Regions from separate parts of the Homo sapiens genome. Here regions 1, 2, 3 and 5 are each linked to region 4. Evidence: promoter capture Hi-C in human tissues and cell types (Jung and others, 2019). All regions are on one chromosome and are shown on one strand. Each heading gives the region's core, a stretch centred on a gene start or on the middle of the fragment in contact. The rest is flanking DNA. Distances are from core to core; before and after follow the strand shown. Region 1 overlaps LINC01378 (long intergenic non-protein coding RNA 1378). Region 2 overlaps LINC02262 (long intergenic non-protein coding RNA 2262). Region 3 overlaps LINC02263 (long intergenic non-protein coding RNA 2263). Region 4 holds the start of NDST3 (N-deacetylase and N-sulfotransferase 3). Region 5 has its middle 76 kb from the start of TRAM1L1.

Evidence for each region. The method cuts DNA at HindIII sites, captures the fragments that hold promoters and counts their contacts. A contact is called where the count stands out against the background at its distance.
Region 1: a fragment that was not itself captured here is called in contact with the fragment with the promoter of NDST3 in region 4 in 2 of the 25 tissues and cell types used here (H1 embryonic stem cells and dorsolateral prefrontal cortex).
Region 2: a fragment that was not itself captured here is called in contact with the fragment with the promoter of NDST3 in region 4 in 2 of the 25 tissues and cell types used here (mesendoderm cells and thymus).
Region 3: a contact is called between a fragment that was not itself captured here and the fragment with the promoter of NDST3 in region 4, in 2 of the 25 tissues and cell types used here (dorsolateral prefrontal cortex and mesendoderm cells).
Region 5: a contact is called between a fragment that was not itself captured here and the fragment with the promoter of NDST3 in region 4, in 1 of the 25 tissues and cell types used here (dorsolateral prefrontal cortex).

The regions. Positions count from the first base shown.
Region 1 is chr4:117,465,369-117,469,768 of GRCh38, reverse strand. The region is part of intron 2 of LINC01378 (long intergenic non-protein coding RNA 1378); the gene reads right to left. Among named protein-coding and RNA genes, the nearest start is that of LINC01378, 39 kb to the right of the region's middle. The HindIII fragment of the contact is 4,260 bases long and covers 244-4,400 here.
Region 2 is chr4:117,336,121-117,340,706 of GRCh38, reverse strand. The region is part of intron 3 of LINC02262 (long intergenic non-protein coding RNA 2262); the gene reads left to right. Among named protein-coding and RNA genes, the nearest start is that of LINC02262, 22 kb to the left of the region's middle. The HindIII fragment of the contact is 4,499 bases long and covers 1-3,597 here.
Region 3 is chr4:117,361,997-117,366,189 of GRCh38, reverse strand. All of the region lies in intron 2 of LINC02263 (long intergenic non-protein coding RNA 2263), which reads right to left. Among named protein-coding and RNA genes, the nearest start is that of LINC02263, 3.4 kb to the right of the region's middle. The HindIII fragment of the contact is 6,739 bases long and covers 1-4,193 here.
Region 4 is chr4:118,032,812-118,036,974 of GRCh38, reverse strand. NDST3 (N-deacetylase and N-sulfotransferase 3) reads right to left here and starts at 2,489. Exons shown (of 14, transcript NM_004784.3): 1 at 2,383-2,489. The HindIII fragment of the contact is 9,214 bases long and covers 273-4,163 here.
Region 5 is chr4:117,159,373-117,163,674 of GRCh38, reverse strand. No RefSeq gene overlaps it. Among named protein-coding and RNA genes, the nearest start is that of TRAM1L1, 76 kb to the right of the region's middle. The HindIII fragment of the contact is 3,457 bases long and covers 1,278-4,302 here.

The sequences.
Region 1 (4,400 bases), core at 1,124-3,623, 570 kb after region 4:
GAATTACTTCCACCCACATTACATATTTAAGCTTTTACAAATACAAAATATTGTTTTATAGTTTTAAAAATTTACAAAAATGATATACAGTACACTTTTTTTAGTAAAGAAAATGAATATGCTTTGAAATTATAGTCATTCATTACTTATTTTTTTTGAACATTAAAAGGCAGTAATTCACAAACACAATGGTTGGTAGAAATCTGAGAAACAAAAATACGTGAAAAAATGTTCTCCTTGAACCACTACAATGATAGAGCAGCTAGAATCATCCTTTTTAAAAATATTACTCTTCTAATTAAAATTCTGTGTTTTTTTAATTTTACATAGAATAAAGATTAAAGTCCTTACAGTGACCTAGGATGCTCTTTGTCATCTTTCCTCTTCTTTTTACCTCTCTCACTTCAACTTCTACTATTTTTATTCTTCCTTACTCCAACAATAAATAATGGAAGCTTGCGCATAAATTGTCTAGCCCCCTACCATTGAAATGGGCAGTTCTGGGAGGCATTCTGTACATATCTTAAAATCTGGTGGAACCACATCCACATTGTTCACAGCAGTGACCTCAGTGATCTGTCTTTTAAAATAATCTTTGCTTCCCTCCCTAGCTCACTCTACCTGCTCCATCATTCACGCTTCCTTGAATTCCCTCCCATATAAATCTAATTTTGTTGTACAAGGTATCTATCTTGTCTTTGTCAATTTCATAGGTGAGACTATTGCAGATTCTATAAACAAGCCAGGAACAGGAATATATAATTAAGACTCACCAGACAATAAGGAGAGGCTATTTCTATTTCATGGAGTGACTTAGTAAGATATGAGAGCTCAGGGAACTTGGAATTACCTGAATCCTCCCAAAGCCCTCACTGAAATTTTTCATCTGACACCCTCCTACTCAATCCCTGAATTTGAATGCATCCTTCACTCTTTTTTTTCTCTAGCATCCCCTGTCAGATCTGCGTTAAAAACATATGCAGAATCTGACCATTTCTCATTGTCTTTATGGCAGACACCCTCATCAAAAACAAACAAACATAATTATCTCGCCCTTGGAATATTGCAATATAATCCTATCTATTTTTTTTAAAACCATGTCTCTATATAGACTGTGTTTTACATGACAGCAAGAATGACCAAACATAATTCAGATAATTTCAAACATCATTCTTACTCTTAACGATCTACAAAGTTTTTCCATCTTCATTAAAAATCAAATCCTTTACAGTCATTCCCCCTTTTACTTCACCTACATAATACTGATCCTGCTATCCCTCCAGCTTATTTTTTTATGCCTTACCTTCTGCTTACTAGGCTATAGATACACATAATATGCCAGACATATTTCCTTCTCAGCAACATTGTGCTCACAGTTTCCTCTATATAGAATGTTCTTCCCTCAATTTGCTGTGTGGCTTCATCCCTAACTCCCTTCAGCTTTCTGCTCCATCTTATCAAAGGGACATGAAAATGTTCTGCTCAGATTTTCTGCGCTGGGAAGTGTAATTGATGATCCCTACTGGTTCCATTACCTTATTTGGGTCAAGGTTATGTTTCCTGTGGACTGCTCTGAGGCAATGACTGATGATGGTGGGGGTTGAAAGGCTGGTCCACTCCTGAAGAAGAAAAAAACTCCTTAAACAGGTGACTTTGGCTCAGGGACTTCCTGTCTGCCTGTATGAAAATTTTAAAGAATTGCATTGCAGTGTAAGATTCTACCTGTTCAATTTTCTAACTTGGCCCTGTCCTTCATAGGTGGTCTCAAAGCTCTCTCCACCTTCTCGGACTGTGCCTCTTTATCCTTCACAGGTATTTCCCCCAATAAGTCCCTTACTCATGTAATCCCAACTTGGTGTGTGCTTTCGGAGGGAGGTGTGGGCATTCTCCAGACATCTTCAGTAAAACATTACCCCATCATTATCCAGTTTATTTAGCCTCGCTTCAGTTTTCTTTTCCTATCAGCAGAGATGTTAATTTTCGATTTATCCCTACCCCCTGCCTATAGAATGCAATATCTTTGAAGACAGAGGATTTATCTATTTTTTTATTTCTATAGCATAATATTTGTACTAGTGGCTTTCAAGTAGTTGGCTATAAATATCCACAGAATGAATAAGCACATGATAAAAGAGATCTAAAACAGCTGCAGATTCTGCCTATGTTGCAATACAATAATGGCAACGTCAGGTTCCATGTTGCTAAACAGTCCTGTTGCTAAATAATAGAAAAATAATTCTAATAATATCATAAAAACCTTTAGCTATCTGATAATGGCTGAGGTAATAACTTAAAACTTTGGACTGTTAAATTATTTTTAAACTCTCCTACACAGCTAGAATAGCCTACCCATTCTTCCCCAAACCCCCAGCATTTTTGATATCTATTAAAATGGTGTAAATAGTAATCAGCAACTCCGTCAAAATTGATTTTAATTTGCACTTCATTCCAAGTGACCACAGAGATGTCAATATTTCTTCAGTCTGTGCCACGGAATGCCAACATCCTTTTCTAATGCTAATGAATTCTTTACTGACTTCAAATTCCATCAGATAAATTGACCAATTTCAAGTACTCCCCTGACCCTCAACATTTTTTTTTTTTTTCTTAAAGTGCTAGATGCCTGAAACCACTGCTGAAGTAAATTACTATAGTGGTCATTCTTCCCACTATAAGTCAATAGACTCCACTCTCACAAGTTTTTATTCATTTATTTTGAGACAGAGTCTCATTCTGTCGCCCAGGCTGGAGTGCAGTGGCAGGATCTTGGCTCACTGCAAACTCCGCCACCCGGGTTCAATAGATTCTTCTACCTCAGTCTCCTGAGTAGCTTGGATTAAAGGAGTGAGCCACCACGCCCAGCTAATTTTTGTATTTTTAGTAGAGACGGGGTTTTGTCATGTTGGCCAGACTGGTCTCTAACTCCTGACCTCAAGTGATCCGCCCTCCTCGGCCTCCCAAAGTGCTAGATTGCAGGCGTGAGCCATCGCGCCCGTCACATGCTCACAAGTTTAAACAGGAAGGATTTATTAAGATATTAATAAGCTTCCAGGAACAACTCTCAGACAACATCACAGAACTAGGTGGTTAAGCAACTAATACTGTGGATCCCACTGCTTCAGTCACAATTAGGAAAGAAACACCATCATTGCTAACCTCATACATTCACTGCTTGGTTCCTGCATGCGCCAGCAATTTGGGTTCCCTATTCCTGCTGGTTTTCTGACATGGCTTACCTATGAGTCAGAGTTTCATGCAGGTGCACGAAATTGGCAGAACCTAAATGAGATCTCTGTAAGCTAGTGGAAAAGGTAGTTGGGAATATTTTCTCAACATTTCTCAAAATATTTTCCACTAGAAAATATTTTCAATTTGGGAAAATGAGATTCACAATTAGGGAGTTACTGAAATATACAAACGATCCTTGATAGTTTTTGGACAGCTGTTAATGATAGATTTATGCTAAAATTAATATCTAATATATAATGGTATAATAGCACTTATAAAGAGCTTACTATGTGCAAGCTTGTTTTATGTACTCTACATCTAGCAATTCATTTTATCATTATATCTCTCCTGTGTAATTGATGTCATTATTTATCCTATATTACAGATGAAACTTAAGCATGGAGATGTTAAGGAATTTGTCCAAGGTCACAGTGATTGCATGGGGCAGAGCTGAGATTCAGATGCAGGTAGTGGCTCTGAAAGTCCGGACTCTCACTTTTCACCAATATATAATATGTGTACATTAACAACATTAGCAAAACAATTTGGAATAGGCAAGAGAAATAAAAAGAAATTGAGTAGAATATATGAATAAAAAAGTTACAGAAAATAAAACTATGATGGCTAATAAAAATGAAGTATTATTATCATGGAAGGAACTATGATATAACCAATTAATATTTCTTTGGGCCCAACACCCTCACATATTATCAACATAAATCCTATTAATATTAAAGAAACTGCCTTAGACATAAATTTCTCAAAAGTTCATTCACTGATTCTTTAAATACATATTTCATATTCACTTCAAGTAGTATGGACTACTGTCCCAATAGTTACAGCAGCACTTAACTGTAATTTATTTTATTTTATTTTATTTTATATTTTTAGTGTGTTAACATCAGAACAGGTGCCCTGTGGGACATATCCTCAATGGTGCACACTCAGCCATTCAATAAAAATTGTTAAATAAAATACTTGTTAAATGTAATCAAAATGTCTGCTATTGAATCTTCAAGAATTATTAAAAGATTCTGAGCACTCTCTCCCCTTAGAAATTTCTCATATATGATTTAAAAATAAGTAAACTAACATTATTTCTTCTCTACAGTAGAACATGTTCTAATTGCCTTACTATAGTTTTCCTCCTGTAACATATATTGGCATTTTAT
Region 2 (4,586 bases), core at 99-2,598, 700 kb after region 4:
ATAAAGCAAGTTTTTAGAGATCTACAAAGAGACTTAGACTCCCACACAATAATAGTGGGAGACTTTAACATTCCACTGACAATATTAGACAGATCATTGAGATAGAAAATTAATAAAGATATTCAGGACCTGAACTCAGCTCTGGATCAAGAGAACCTGATGGATATCTACACAACTCTCCAAACAAAAATAACAGAATATACATTTTTCTCATCACCACATGGCACTCACTGTAAAATTGATCACATAATAAGAAGTAAAACACTCCTCAGAAACATGCGAAAGAAGTGAAATCATAAACAGTCTCTCAGATCAGAATGCAATCAAATTAGAACTCACCCAAAACCATTCCACTACAGGGAAATTGCACAACCTGCTTCTGAATGACTTTTGGGTAAACAATGAAATTAAGGCAGAAATCAAGAAGTTCTTTGAAACTAATGAGAACAAAGATACAATGTACTAGAATCCCCATAACACAGCTGAAGCAGTGCTAAGAGGAAAATTTATAGCACTGAATGCCCACATCAAAATGCCAGAACAATTTCAAGTTGAAAGCCTAACATCACAACTAAAAGAACTAGAAAAAAAAAGAAAAAAAAAAAAAAAAAAGCTAGCACAAGACAAGAAATACCTAAGATCAGAGCTGAACTGAAGAGGATAGAGATAGGAAAAAGGCCTTCAAAAATTCAAACGGTAAAGGAGCTGATTTTTGAAAAAAATAAAATAAAATAGTTAGACTGCTAGTTAGACTAATAAAGAAGAAAAGAGAGAAGACTCAAATAAACACAGTCAGAAAGAAAGGGCATATCACCCCACAGAAATACAAACAACCATCAGAGAATACTACAAACACCTCTATAAACTATACAATCTAAAATAAATGGATAAATTGCTGGACACATATACCCTACCAAGATTGAACCAGAAAGAAATTGAATCCCTGAATAGACCAATAATGAGTTCTGAAATTGAGGCACTAATAGCTTACCAACCAAAAGAAAAAAATAAGTCCTAGAGGAGGTACAAAGAAGAGCTGGTATCATTCATACCATAACTATTCCAAAAAGTTGAAAAGAAGGGACTCCTCCCTAACTCATTTTATGAGGCCTGCATCACTCTGATACAAAAACCTCCAGAGATACAACAAAAAAACAAACTTCAGGACAATATCCTTGATAAACATTGATGCAAAAATCCTTGACAAAATACTGGCAAACTGAATCCAGCAACACATCAAAAATCATATCCACCACAATCAAGTAGGCTTTATCCCCAGGATGCAAGGTCAGTTCAATATTTGCAAACCAATCAATGTGATTCATCATATATGCAAACCAATCAATGTGATTCATCACAAAAACAGAACTAAAGACAAAAACCATATGATTATCTCAATAGATGCAGAAAAGGCCTTCATTAAAATTCAACATCTCTTCATTTTAAAAACTCTGAATAAACTAGGTATTAAAGGAACATATATCAAAATAATAACAGTCATATATGACAAACCCACAGCCAATATCATACTGGCAGCATTTCCCTGAAAACTGGCAAAAGATGAGGATGCCCTCTCTCACAACTCCTATTCACCACAGTATTGGAAGCTCTAGCCAGGGAATTCAGGCAAGAGAAAGAAATAAAGTGTATTCAAATAGGAAGAGAGGTAGTCAAACTATCTTTGTTTGCAGATGACATGATTTTATATCTAGAAAACACCGTCATTTCAGCCCCAAAACTTCTTAAGCTGATAATCAACTTCAGTAAAATATCAGGATTCAAAATCAGTGTGCAAACATTGTTAGCATTCCTGTACACCAACAAGAGTCAAGTTGAGAGTCAAATCACAAATGAACTCCCAATCACAATCATCACAAACAGAATAAAACACATAGGAATACAGCTAACAAAGGATGTGAAATATCTCTACAAGGTAACTACAAAGCTCTGCTCAGAGGAGTCAGGGATGACAAAAGTAAACACAAAAAAGTTCACGTTCATGAATAGGAAGAATCAATATTGTGAAAATGGCCATACTGCCTGAAGTAATTTATAGATTCAGTGCTGTTCCTGTTAAACTACCATTGACATTCCTCATAGAATTAGAAAAAACTGTTTTATAATACCTATGAAAACAAAAAAAGAGCCCAAATAGCCAAGGCTATTCTAAGCAAAAAGAACGAAGCTGAAGGCATCATGCTATCTGAATTCAAACTATACTACAGGGCTACAGTAATCAAAACAGCATGATACTGGTACAAGAACAGACACACAGATCAATGGAACAGAATAGAGAACGCAGAAATAAGACTACACACTGACAACCATCTGATCTTTGACAAATCTGACAAAAACAAGCAATGGGGAAAAGATTCCCTGTTTAATAAATGGTACAGAAAGAACTGCCTAGCTATATGCAGAAAATTGAAACAGGACCCATTCCTTACAACTTATACAGAAATTAACTCAATATGGTTTAAAGACTTCAATGTAAAACCCAAAACTATAAAAACCCTATAAGAAAACAAAGGCAATTCTATTCAGGATATAGGCACAGGCAAAGATTTCATGACGAAGATGCCAAAAGCAATTGGAACAAAAGCAAAAATTGACAAATGGGATTTAATTAAACAAAAGAGTTTCTGCACAGCAAAAGAAACTATCAACAGAGGAAACAGACAATGTAAAGAGCGGAAGAAAATTTTTGCACTCTATCCACCTGATAAAGGTCTAATATCCAGCATCTACATGAAGCTTAAACAATTTACAAGAAAAAAACCACCAAACAACCACATTAAAAAGTGGGCAAAGGACATGAACAGACACTTCTCAAAAGAGGACATACATGTGGCCAGCAAATACATGAAGAAAAGCTCAACATCACTGATTATTAGTGAAATGCAAATCAAAACCATAATCAGATACCATCTAACACCAGTTAGAATGGCTATTACTAAAAAGTCAAAAAAAATAATAGCAGATGATGGTGAGGTTGCCGAGAAAAGGGAATACTTATGCACTATTGGTGGGAGTGTAAATTAGCTCAACCATTGTAGAAGACAGTGTGGCCATTCCTCAAAGACCTAGAGGCAGAAATACGATTCGACCCAGCAATCCCAATTACTGGATATATAACCAAAGGAATATAAATCTTTTTATTATAAAGATACATGCATGTGTATATTTATTGCAGCACTCTTCACAATTGCAAAGAGATGGAATCAACCTAAATGCCCATCAAATGATAGACTGGATAAAGGAAATGTGGTACATATACATACTATGCAGCCATAAAAAGGAACAAAATCATGTCCTTTGCAAGGTCATGGAAGCCATTATTATCAGCAAATTAATGCAGGAAAAGAAAACCAAATGCTGCATGCTCTCTCTTATAAGTGGGAGCTGAATTATGAGAACACATGCACACATGATGGGGGTGGAGAACACACACTGGGGCATTTTTTAAGGTGAAGGGTAGAACACTTTTTAGAAGGGAGAGCATAAGAAAGAATAGCTAATGGATGCTGGGCTTAATACCTGGGTGATGAGATGATCCGTGCAGCAAACCATCATGACACACATTTATCTATGTAACAACACTGCACATTCTGCACATGTACTCCTGAACCTAAAATAAAAGTTGGAAATTAAAAAAAGAGAGAGAATGATTCAGAGATAAAAAGCAGAAATGAAAATCACTTTTCAATTCAACCTGAGAGAATACTTTAGTACAGTATTAAGAATACCTTAATACATTTAAACATTTATTGCACAATTAATGCAGTAGATAGTTCTTGGAGTACCACACTGAACTTTTCCCTATTCTGAAGAGTGTTCATCTCTTGTCAATCTATTTATTCTTCTCTGACAGATAGTAGCTTTACAATGCCAGCAGAATTAGCTGAATAGCAGAAACAATAAATGAATAATCAGACAATTTTCTTCCATTCTTTTACTACTAAAGTCATTTGAAATGTATGATCCTATTCTGTTTTCTGTTATTACAAATTTCTACTTAAATGTGTGTCATTTGACTTTAGTAGTAAAAGAATGGAAGAAAATGATGCTTCAATTTTTCTGGTGGTGCACATGTTCTCTTTCTTATAAGGCTTTATTATGTTTCCTACCCATAAATTCAAAATATACATCGGCATACCTACAATACTTTACTTAAGTTCACAATCTCTTCTGCCATTTTCTTTTTCCATCATAGGCTTTAGGCCTGCTTTCTTCCTTTATTGTTAATTGATGAAACGCCATGGCTTACCCTTGAGAATAATAGCAAAAAATAGTGTCAGAAGGAGAATATCTTGCCTTTTCCCTTACAGTTACATGAATTGCAAGCAAACACAATTCAAATTCATAAAATTAGAGCTAATAAAATGTTAAATAGGGAACATTGCCAAAATACAAATCTTGGAGTCTTATCAAATATGCAAGCTTGTATAAAAAATGTATGATACTGTTCTGTTTTCTGCTATTGCAAAGTTCTACTTAAAAGTATTATTTAAACTAAGAAATTATTTAAGATGCCTAAATTTCAGACATTGAGATATGCTCTGTTGTTAAACAACTCATAACTTTGA
Region 3 (4,193 bases), core at 1,518-4,017, 670 kb after region 4:
TTGAACTTTGTCTTAAATTTTAAAATCAAATTTTTACATTTATAATTAATTATTTTTCTCCTTTTTCACTAATTAACAAGGCAGAAAAAAACGGTTATGTGATGACATCTATGTATGCTTTTAAAGTATATTAAATTCTATTTAAATATGTTTCTAAAAACATGTCTTAATATCATCTATTTTAGAATGATATAGCTCTAATACTGAAATGATTTCTATGAATGTGTCTTTAATGTATAAGAAAAAAGATAAAATTACTTTTGTATGGACCAAAGAAAAATTTTCCCTTCTCACCTTCAAGGTTCACTAAAAATCACTGACAAGAGGAAATTAATAGGAAAAAATACATAAAAATGTATTTGATCATAGTTTTATATAACACAGGAGGCTTCAGAATACAGACTCAAAGGTAGAGGGAATATTGCCCATTTTTATGCTTAGGTATGCACAGCCATGTAGAAAAACTATTGGGCAAAAAACATGATCTAATGCTAATAGACTGAGTGGGTAAACCCAGCACAACCTGTGTGTCTAGAGTCTCTTGGCCTCTCTTGAGCATGAATTCCTTCCTTCTGGGTATGGACAGTACCCTCTCTGGAATGGGAGTCTTATGACAAACAATCAAACAAGGTAGGCCAGATAATTTCTTTAAAGCCAGTTTTTACACAAACAAGGTAGAGGAAAAGTTAGCATATTATTTGGGGGTTTGATGGTTGGCTCTGGGGACAAGGGGTTCTGAATACAGAGTTAAGGGGCACCAGAAAAATGACAAGTAAATACAATCTTAAAGAAGACAGAAATATATCTCACCTCTGCTCTTTGATTCAGAAACTTCCCTCTCTCTCTCTAACCTCTCCTCCCTGCCACTCTTTCTCCCTTTCTCTGTTTTTCTGGATGTATTGAGCTATTGAAGCTCCTAGGAGACTCCTGGCTGCCAGTAGCAAAGTTGACTGCCTCACGAGGCTGAGGAGAAGAGAACTAGAATCAACTCATATTAGAGAGCTGGATATTCAATGTGTTTTTATTATTTCTATGAAAACATGTTCAACTATTTCGAAAACTACTTTTTTTGGTTTTCCTCCTTTCTCATTTTTTTTTCTTTTTATCTGCATTGGAAGTAGTCACTAAGTTTATGCCACAGATTGGAAGGGATGGGTAAATTTACTTAGTAAGCAAAGCAAACATTTGCCTCTTCTCAAATAGTGAATAAGATACCTGAAATTAAAGGATCATCTTCTGGCCTTTTAAAGAAGGAGGTGCCATTTTTTCAACTACTAACATTTTCAAGTCATTTTTAATTGATGATCAAGGCTCTTCCTGACTCTTCGTCAGTAACAGACATAATAAGGGTTAGAGAAGTGAAGGATTTTTATGTGTGTGTGAAGGTGAGAGATGATAGATTACAAGAGGTATAAAAATGACATTAAAACGTTACAGTAAGCTAATTAATTGTTGAAGAAAGAAAAAGTATTTTAAATACATGTAGTGGAGCCTAAGTACACAGTGTTTATAAAGTCTACAGCTATATACAATAATGTTCTAGGCCTTCACATTCACTCACCACTCATTCATTGACTCAACCGGTGTAACTTCCCGTCCTGCAAGCTGCATTTGTGGTTAAGTGTCCTATACAAATGTACCATTTTTTAACCATTTTAAAAATATGTTGATATGTTAACAGAAAATAATAAGATGGCCCAACTTCAGAAATTTACATAACCTTTAAAGTTACTCTTTAGAGATTCTCTTTGTCATGGATTTGAGCCTGTCCCAGTATAACACAAAATGTGGAACTGACTAAATATCCACTACCTTTTTTTAATTAATTTTTTTTTTTTTTAGTGTCAAGGGTACATGTACAGATTGGTTCTACAGTTAAATAGCATGATGTGGGGAGTTGGCGTCCATACTATTTCATCACCCAGATAATAAGCATAGTATCTGATAGGTAGATATATATATATATTTTGAGACTGAGTCTTGCTCTTGTTGCCCAGGCTGGAGTGCAATGGTGCCATCTCGGCTCACCGCAACTTCTGCCTCCCAGGTTCAAGCGATTCTTCTGCCTCAGCCTCCAGAGTAGCGGGGATCATAGGCATGCACCACCACACCTGGGTAATTTTGTATTTTTAGTAGAGACGGGGTTTCTCCGTGTTGGTCAGGCTAGTCTCAAGATAGGTAGATTTTTTTATCCTCACCCTCCTACCCATCCTCCATCCTAAAGTAGGCCCTGGTGTCTATCGTTCCTTTCTTTGTGTCTATATGTACTCTGTGTTTAATTTATGCTTATAAGTGAGAACAGATGGTGTTGGGTTTTCTGTTCCTGAATTAGTTCACTGAGGATAATGGTCTTCAGCTTCATCCATGTTGTTGCAAAAGACATTATCTTATTCTTTATTTTGGCTGCATAGTATTCCATGGTGTATATGTACCACATTTTCTCTATCCAGTCTACCACTGATGGGCATTTAGGTTGATTGCATGTCTCTGCTATTGCGAATAGTGCTGTGATTAACTTATGAATCCATGTGTCCTTATGGTTGAACAATCTATATTCCTTTGGATTGCTAATGGGATTGCTGGGTCAAGTGTGTGTAGGTTTGGGGTTCTCCTTTGAATCAGTTATTGCACTTCACTGTTTCCTCACAATTATGTATCAGGAACACTGGCAAGAATTTGTAAACAGATCCAAAACTCATCCTTGAGTATTAAGAGTGAGAAGATTATCTCTCCATGGAACAATTCAGTTTCATGTCTATAGACAAGAATTATTTTGCATTTCTATTAATTATCTACCACTTAACAGAGTTGCAAAGAAGCTTATAGAATCAAAATAATGTAATGTGAAATGTGCCATAAATAATGCATAGTTTTCATTGAAGCACAGATCTTTTCCACATGTCATGTATCTATTAGTTCACTAGACCTAATTTGTAATATTTATGGAAAATATAGTCAGAGTAATAGTAGAACCAATAGTAGTTATATCAGTAAAGAACTTACCATCAAATAATAACTCTTTTAAAGGTTAAAAATATGTCTTTCATTCAAATATAAAGTAAGCATATGTCAATGATTTTTAATTTCTTTATGATATTAAATATATATTATTTTTTCAAGTACTATATCATTTATAATTTATATCAGTTTTTTGACTCTCTTCTATGTTGCATTGATCAATTTGTCAGTGTATTATAATATAAATTTTTATTACTATAAAAATAATATTTTGGCATATAGTAAAAAATAACCACATAACTAATAATGTTTACTTATTCCTTTCAATTCTTGTATGATATGTTAACAGAATAAGTTACATAGTTTTAATTTGCTTATAGAATTTAAAGGATTTTTTTTTTCTGATTCATGGGGTTACTTTCAGTAGCTTAGTATGGGTAGAGAAGTCTAACATTTTTTTATTTACCCAAATTGGTTTGACCTATTTTTCAAATTGGAATTTCTATTTCTTGTTAAAAATAGAAATAGAAAAATGCTGCAGATATTTCAATAGTGTTTCAAAGCCTGGGAGGCAGAGCTAGAGGATTTATCAAGCTCAGCTCACCTAATACACACACCCAGCTTCCTACCATCACTTCCACCCTGAGCCTAAGGGTCTGTCCATCTGTTTCTTTCATGAAATCCAGGGGAAATTGTTATTTTCTCAAGAGCTTAGAGATTTAGTGTGTGCAGGTGTGTGTGTGTGTGTGTGTGTGTGTGGTTCCCTTTTCTATATGGACAAAGTTTATTATTATTTTTTTACATTTCTCTCAGCTCATGCCCACAAAGAAAGCTTAAATACTAAAGACAAAGGATCATAGCAAGTCCTGAAGGTTTAAGAATCCAAAGTAAAAATTTACGGTTATATCTGTAGTTTGTGTTCAATGAGAAAATAAGTAAAAATTAAAATAAGTCCTTCATGCTATTTAGAGTTTTCTAGTAAGAAATACACACTAACTTACTGAATATTTTATTTAAATTTTTATTCTGTAATTTCATTCACTTTAAAAAGGTAAAAGACAGTACTTATTGATGAGAAGAAAATAAGGAATTTAGTTAAGCCAGAACATAAGATATATATTTACACATTTCTTATTATTCGAGAGAGCATGGAGTTAAAAATTTTAAGATCAAAGTTAGTGTTTAACAAAGCTCACTGCAATTTTTTTCTGATCTTCTTATGTTATACAAAGTCA
Region 4 (4,163 bases), core at 1,240-3,739:
ACATGTAAAATGGATACCCATAATTGAGATGCTTAAAGGTTTTAGGATAGGACTGCAATAATTGATTTTTAAGCTCTTATTTGGCAACAGGTAATCAAGAATTATAGCCCTCAGTAATTTGTAGAAGATTTGGGGAAATAATTTCTTATAGACATTAATTAATTGTAGTAGGTCCTGACTACTTTTTTTTTCTTGTCCTGTAACTTACATGAAATCGATGAAAATGTTTAGAGTAACATGAAAGAATAAATCACTCACTGTGATATCCAGGTATCTAAGAGTATAGTTTTTTACTATAAACAAACAGACAAACCAAGAAATATTAAAATCACCCCTTTACGAGAAACTTCAGTCATGAAATAGTTTTGAGGATTGTTCAGACTAATTATCTTTATAATGTAGGTCGTTACTTTTGTGGCCTGGCAGCATTCCTAATCTGGACAGGTGTTCAGAGTTCATGCATTTCAGTGTGAATGCTCATTTATAATAGACACAGCACAGGGAAAGTAAACTTCTACTGTTTTCCCTTACTGTCAGAACTGTTAAGCAATTAGAAATTCAAGGCATTCATTTAGTTGAGAATAGTGTTTTTATCCTTAATTCAATTTCCCTGATTTTATAGTGTATATAAATCACAAAGTATTTACATATAGTTTAAAAAAATATATTTTGCATCTTAACAAATGCACTTTTAAGGCTCTAATCACCAAAAAGCAGCTGAAACTCAATCAGGTTTCAAGGAAGTCATATAATCAGAGTCCCAAGATTAAAAGAAAAAAAATTGTAATTTCTTTACAGTTTTAAAATTTTGAAATGACAGGTAGACAATTACATATTTACATTTTAGCTTATAATAACTTCTTTAGCAGAATATATGGTTTAGAAAAAGAATCTCCAATGCCTGATTATCTCTTCTACTATATATTTTTTAACAAACTTTTCAGTTACACCAAAAATTAATATTTGCCTCAATGTTCAGAAATAATGCTTTTCTCAAGAAAATTAATTTAAAAAGAGGGTATATATAACTCCACCAAACTAAACTATAACAAATATCTCCAGAAAGAGATAAAAGTTTTATTTTATCTAAAACATTTTAGTAATGTAAGAATTCTTCATTTTAAAGACTATGAAGAAAATTAACTCATGTGACAAGCTCAAAATTAACATTATTTACACAAAGAAACAAATCTTCTGTTTTACCATCAAGATGATAAAGAAAAATGATAACAAAATTAGAAATGGTAGATACTGTGTTAACCAGAGAAAGAAAAAAAAGAGCTTATCTTAGGCAAGCCTCTTTATATGTTCAGTACTATTTTAAAAAGGAGCCTCCTTCAAACTTATATTTGAAATCTCCATCTTAAATATAATATTGATAGGAAGGTATGGATGAAGAAAAAGGGAAAAAAATTCCCTTCAGCTGAATATCGGATATTCTAGAGTTTCTCTGCCATATCATCCTGCTCTCTGGTGGTGAACAGCATTGCTCAGTAGTTGATAACATGAAATTTTCTAAGGGCAAAAAAAAAAAACAAAAAAAAAGTGTGTGTCCCAGATCAGTTGCACACATCTCAATATTTGATTTGTATTTTAATTTAATACAAATGTATTAAGAATGTAGCTGTTTGCATTGTCTAGAAGGGTTTTCTTCTAAACTCTTCCAGATTACATGTTGCTATATTTCAATATGTTTATAAAGAATATAGATACTAATACATTTTCGACATTAAATAACTCTGATGCTTAAACAGTATCCAGCTATTAGAAAAACTATTTGAAAAAGGATCTGAGTAAACCCCTTAAAGATGTAACTTTGCTTTTACCTGCCCCCACAAAATGGATATATTAAATAGAAGATATATCTGTTTTCTTTAAATTTAAAGTTTCTGTATTTGATACCTAGATTGATTCTTTCCATTTCCATTTAATTTTATTAATTGTATAGTTTTAAATAATGTCTATAAACTGCATCAAATAGAAAGCCTTTTGAGGATCATTACTGTGTAGATAGGCAGGTAGTTTAAAGTCTCTGATATTCCTTACAAAATTCTGTCAAGGCAACAGACATGTGTTCTGTTAAACAGATCTACTTCAGAATCATTATAAGTTGGTGAATATCTTAAACAATTACAAGAGGTCATTTCTTTAGTACCATAATCTTATGAAAGGGAAGCTTTAAAATCATCCCTGAATGAGACGGTCCTTTGTTTCACTTAATTTAATCAAAATACTCTATATTTCTTCTTCAAGAATAAAATGAAGCACTTGTTCAATCTTGAAATTTTTAGATTATTTGAAAGCAAAGTTGTTATCTCTTAAAAGCCCCTACATTTATGAGTGAGGCATTAATGCACAGTATAAATAAATAAATACACTTACCTGGAATTAAAGTTCAGAGCTGAAAATGCTTGAGAAAGTTGCAATAGATGGAAAAGAAACGGAAACAGTACCACTCGTTACCATCGGCTCAGGCTTTTTGACTTTACAAGTGGTAGCAACACCAGTCCTGGCCCAGTACTCTCATGTTATGTAACATCTTATTAATATTAGCCATCAAACTGCTACCAAGCTGGTGAGGCACTAGAGGGCAAGAGTGTCACATGCAAGACCCGTCGCCAAGGGACCGGCTTTGGTACCACTTCGGGGGAAGACAGATGCTAACTAAGCTGATGAATAACAGGATGCCCGAATACAACAGCAAACTTGTAACGTTCCTCAAAGAATATTTTACATGTCAATTTTCTGACTAGCGGAAGAGTTAACAGGTTAATAAATATGAGCAAGCAAATAACCACACCATGAAAAACTTTTAGGATTATATTTACAAACCCACAGTCACTCAAGAGGCTGTTTGTTTTTTTCTTTCCATTGTCTAAATAAACTTATTTAAAACAGGAGAAAAAAGCTGGTTAAATAAAACGAGTGTCGGTTTCAGGACTCCCTCATTCCAAGCCGCGAGAAACTTGTCTGGTCGAGATGCCGCCTCTGGAGTCCGCATTCCAAGGCGCCCGGATCGGGTTTCTGGGCGAGGAGACCGGCCCCGTCCTCCATGGAGATTACCTGGGGCTGCAGCCGTCCGCGGGCTCCTCCTTCCCTCGGGTCTTCGGCCTCAGCCGCTCCCCAGGGCCCCTCGTCCGGGTGGCGCTTGGGTGCTACGCGGTGCCCGGGGTCCGGCGGGGGCGACAAGCGGGCGACCTCTCCCCTCCGCGCCCGGGATCTGCGCGGACACAGCTGGTGGCGACTTCGGCCGCTCAGGCTGCGGCTGCGGGGCGAGCGCAGCGGGTGCGCCGGGGACTCCTGCGCTGGAGAACCACGGCCCTGGGACCCGCCCGGCCGCGCCTCCGCCGCCCTCGCCACCGCCTCCCGGGCGGGAGCCGCCGCCTCCCAGCTCCCGGCCCGCGCGCGCCCGCCCCGGGGAAGGGGAGGGAGCGGGAGCTGAGGACGGGAGCCGCCTCCATCGACCGGGCTCCCGCCCGGACCGGCCCTGAGGATCTGGCTGCCCGGGCCTCGACAAGGAGACCCCGGGGGTTCCGCCCCGGCCTGCCAGTTCCGACCGCCCCTCCCGGCGGGTTGGCGGCGGCCGCCAAGGATGAAACGTCTTGTGCGGCCAGGGAAAGGGGTGCGAGTCCCCGAGGCGACGCTGGAAGGGTGGGGCGCACCCGCGCGGTCCCTTCCTGTGGTGCTCCTGCCGTTGGCACTGGACCAGGGCGGCTGCGAGGCTGCAAGAGTTTCCTCTGTTCGCCAGTTTTTTTCAAATGCCATGTGTTTCAGCTCCTGAAGACAAGTGGAAGGCCAGCAACTGAAGAGATATTTTGGATTCAAGGTGTGAGGTTACCCTCTCCAGAACTATAGTTTGATTAGAAGTGTGAATCGAATGATATATATTTTTAAAAATTTCATTTGGTTCCACTAACATGTGAATTGTATTAAGTGGGGTCTACTAATGATACTTTGTATTGGCCATTTGTGGTTTTGCTTCCCAGCACTCACTCTTGTTGAAACAGTACTCCTGTTCATTTTGGAAGATCCAACCACTTGATCTCACCCCGCAGCCCATTTGCTTTAGGTGATGTCAGCCGCTGCTGACTCACTGGTAGACCCACAGCTCAGGTCTGGCCAGTGATGGCTTTCTGTCCTGGTAGCATGGGTAGGTATGTAAC
Region 5 (4,302 bases), core at 1,757-4,256, 870 kb after region 4:
CCCCATATTATGTTTCTGCCAAATGTAATTTAACTATTATTATAAAAGTAACACTGATAAAATAATTTAATATAATGGTAGAAACAAAGTCCATCTTTATATCATTTTTTAAATTCGATAAGCATAGAGCCAGACCCATTCATCACTATAGTGAGAGTAGGCTGGGTCTTCTCTGCTACTGCCATATAACAAAGAACTTGACTGGCCTTTCTTCCTGGTTCCTGGGAGGGAGCTTCTAAATCCTTGTAATTTCCCCAGTGATAGAAGTGTCTCTGTTCTTCATGATGAGACCCTGGGACCACACTGGCATAAGCCAGTGAGATGACTAACAGTGGGTCTCTCGGTAGTTTGTGCAAACAAGATGTCTCAGGATGGGGCCTAGCCATGTCCAAAAGACTAGTATGTAATTAACAGTTGGGGATTTTATACTATACTATAAGTTTGCCTTCCAGGAAGGTGATGGGGGCTGGAGATTGAGTTCAGTCATTTGGCTGATTAATCATGCTTATGTAATCAAAATGATGCTCGGATGAGCTTTGCTGGTTAACAATATTCTGTAAATTGTTACACATTAATATACTGGAGGGATGATGTGTCCTGTCTCTGAAGCGAGAGGACATGAAAGCTTTGCAATTGGACCCCTTCCAACCTCATTGTTTACATTTTTTTGACTGGTCCTGATATGTATCCTTTTTGCTATAATAAAAATATCATCATCAATATAGTGAAACAGGAAAGGTTTCCTTGTTCCCCTTGCAGGGTGTATGATGGGGTGTGGCTCGCTTCTTCAGTGCTCCACTGCTCAAACCTCTAGGGGAGCATATAGACGGGGAGGCTGTGGGGCTCCAACCCCACAGCTGTGTCTAGGGGTGAATGTTTACGGCTGAAGCCCTCCAAGGGGCGTGTGTTACAGAGTGCTCTTTCAGTTTAGCCATCCATAGGTGGCTTGTGTTAGTCAGCTCAGTTAGACCTCTGCCTTGTCTCAAGGACAGAGGGCTTTCTGTATCCTGGGGTTCTTGCCTTGGTGTACGGGAAAGAATCGGATCACACGTGGGCTTGGAGAATGAGTGCAAAGTTTTATTGAGTGGAAGTAGCTCTCAGCAGATGGGGAGCCAGAAGGGGAATAGTTTCCCCGTTGTCCGTGGCTGGGGCTCTCCTTCAACTGTCCCGGCCAAACTCTGCCTTGTTCTGCTGGTTGATGGCCTGCAGGCCTGCTGGCGTCTGTCATGTGCTCTTCCACCGGCATGCTCTCCTCAACGTCCTCTTGACGTCCAGCCACTTGTGTCTTCTGCCAATGTGTTCTGCTCCACTTCCAGTCACTTGTTTGTCTGCCTCCTAGGGTCTGGGGGTTTGCATAGGCACAGGTTGGGGGTGTGGCAGGCCAGGGTGGTCTTGGGAAATGCAACATTTGGGCGCAAAGGCAGGAGTGCCTGTCTTCATCTAGGTCAGTGGGCACAGGTCTGGGGGGTGGAGCCCTCGCCAGGGACCCGCCCTTCTACTCCCAGCACTTGCCTGCCCCACTTTTGTATCAATAGCAGTTTCCTGAGTTCTGACAGTTTCTAGTGAATTTTTCTACTTGAGAAGTCAATGAGGAGCCCCAGATTTGTAGTGAGTTCATCAGAGGCTTGGGAACCCCTGAGCTTGCAGCTGGTATCTGAAGTAAAAATAGTCTTGTTGGGGACTGTACCCTTAACCTGCAGAGTCCCCTGGTAGTTAGTGTCAGAAGTCACTGCAGCTACCATGCCATTCTCTGTATACTCTTTTATACGCTGTAATCTGTGGTCAGGCACAAGTTTCTAGACATACAACATTATTTCCATTGCCAAATCCAAGGCATTTAGTTCAATAGTGTATCATCTTGTATTTGATTACTATGACTGCTAATTTGGATAACGTTCTTAATAGGCAATAGAGTGAGTCAAGTAAAGCTTCATGTTTACACAGCATTAAGTACTCTTGTCTTTTCCAGTTTAGTAAACTGCCCAAAATCTAGCAGTTACTAAACACATTCTAATTGACTAAATACTAGAGTCAGAATCAGTTAGATATTTTTGAAGCTGAATTTACACTGCTACATCATGAAGGTGTCATTTAATTCACTTGATCAGGCTCAATTAAAGATCTGAAAGACATAGTGAAACTAAGACCCTAAAAGACATTTGTAGTATCATTTTTTAAAATAAAATTTCTCAGTGAAATGGAGAGATAAATTAAGCACTGGATAATAGAAATGTTAAAAAACAGAACTAACCTTAGTTTTTGAACAAAAGAAAAACTCGATTATGCATTATATTGTCTTTTGAATATAGGCAAAGTATACTTTCAGATAACTGACAATACAGTTAATAATAATAGTTACCATAAATACAACTTTAAAAAATTTTCTTGCCTGTCTTTAAAATTTTTCTAGTCCTTTTTCTGCTTGCTTCATTTATTATTGCTAGTCATTTGCTTTAATTTCATTCTAACAAGCATACTATATCTACTTCTTGAACCTCCTCTTCACATCTTTTGTTTCTAGTTATTTATTCAGGGGCAAGATCTGTTCTGGAGGGTGGGGAAGATTGTCACTAACTTTGATTTTTGCCTTAGTTTGACTGAGAGCAGAGGGGATAGTTGTGTTGTCACTGTGGTCATTAAGAAATAAATAAGACAACATATAAGAATGTCCTCATATGTAAGGTATTAATACAATGTAAAAGTATTGCCCAAACATTCTCCTGAGGTAAAATAATAATAATAATAATAATAATAATAATAAGAGGTCGGGCGCAGTGGCTCACACCTGTAATCCCAGCACTTTGGGAGGCTGAGGCAGGCAGATCACGAGGTCAGAAGATCGAGACCATCCTGGCTAACACGAGGACACTCCGTCTCTACTAAAAATACAAAAAAATAGCGGGGCATGGTGGTGGGCGCCTGTAGTCCCAGCTACTTGGGAGGCTGAGGCAGGAGAATGGCATGAACCCGGGAGGCAGAGCTTACAGTGAGCCGAGATTGCACCACTGCACTCCAGCCTGGGCGACAGAGTGAGACTCTGTCTCAAAACAAATAAATAAATAAAATAATAATAATAAATAAAGCCATTGTCTCACACACCTGCAAAAAAAAAAAAAAAAAAAAAAAAAAAAAGAAAGAAACACAAGGCTGGAGGTTCACAGAGTATTTATATTGGAAAATCTCATTTAAGTTAATATATAACATTAACATTCAAAATTCAATGCAATTTAATCAAACAACTGTAACTCCATGACAAAGAGAGTCATCTCTACTTCAGAAGCATTTAATTCAATATTAAGAATTAATACATCATCATATCTTCAAGACAAACCCATGTACCATTTCACAACAACTAATAAAAATTATAGGAAGAATCTCATCTCAGAATAATTGATTTCTATTTTTCATTCATTAACGAGATAAGACTCTCAGCTTTAGGTGTATTTCATTGAATTAACTTTGTGGAAATACATACTGCCTGATAAAAAGCAAAGACTATTTAAATGGAAAAAGATTACTTTATTAGAAGTATAGGAATCTCCTACATTGCCTAATAAAGGACATTAGACCCATAAGTAGGGTCTGGAATTGAATTAATGGAATCATAGGCAAATATAATCCTGCTGATTAATCTTGTATCCTCCACAGGCATTTCAGCGTTCCATTGGATGAATTCTTGTTATTTTTAAAATAGGTAGGCCTAGCACAGTGGCTCATGCCCGTAATCCCAGCACTTTGGGAGGCTGAGGCAGGCAGATCATGAGGTCAAGAGATCGAGACCATCCTGGCCATCATGGTGAAACCCCATCTCAACTAAAAATACAAAAAATTAGCTGGGTGTGGTAGTGCATGCCTGTAGTCCCAGCTACTCTGGAGACTGCGGCAGTAGAATCACTTGAACCCGGTAGGTGGAGGGTTCAGTGAGCCGAGATGGCGCCACTGTACTCCAGCCTGGCGACAGTGTGAGACTCCATCTGAAAAATAAATAATAATAATAGGTAAAGAAAAGGAGCTAATAGTCAAGCTTCTGCAAAGTGTAAACATCAAAATAAATGTACAATAAAAAGATGTTTTTTGCCTTCCTCAACTACATGGATATATATGCACTGTCTTACTAAATGCCAAGTACATTTTAATAGCAAAATATATGTATTTGCCATTTTCTTTATACTAGTGGAATAAGCATGCCACCTTAACATTGTCGAGGCTCTAAATAAATTTTATAATTTAAATAATACCTGAAGGTACCTTTACAAAGGTGAGGAGTTAATTATACTTGTCTATCTAGTTTTAACTAAAAAA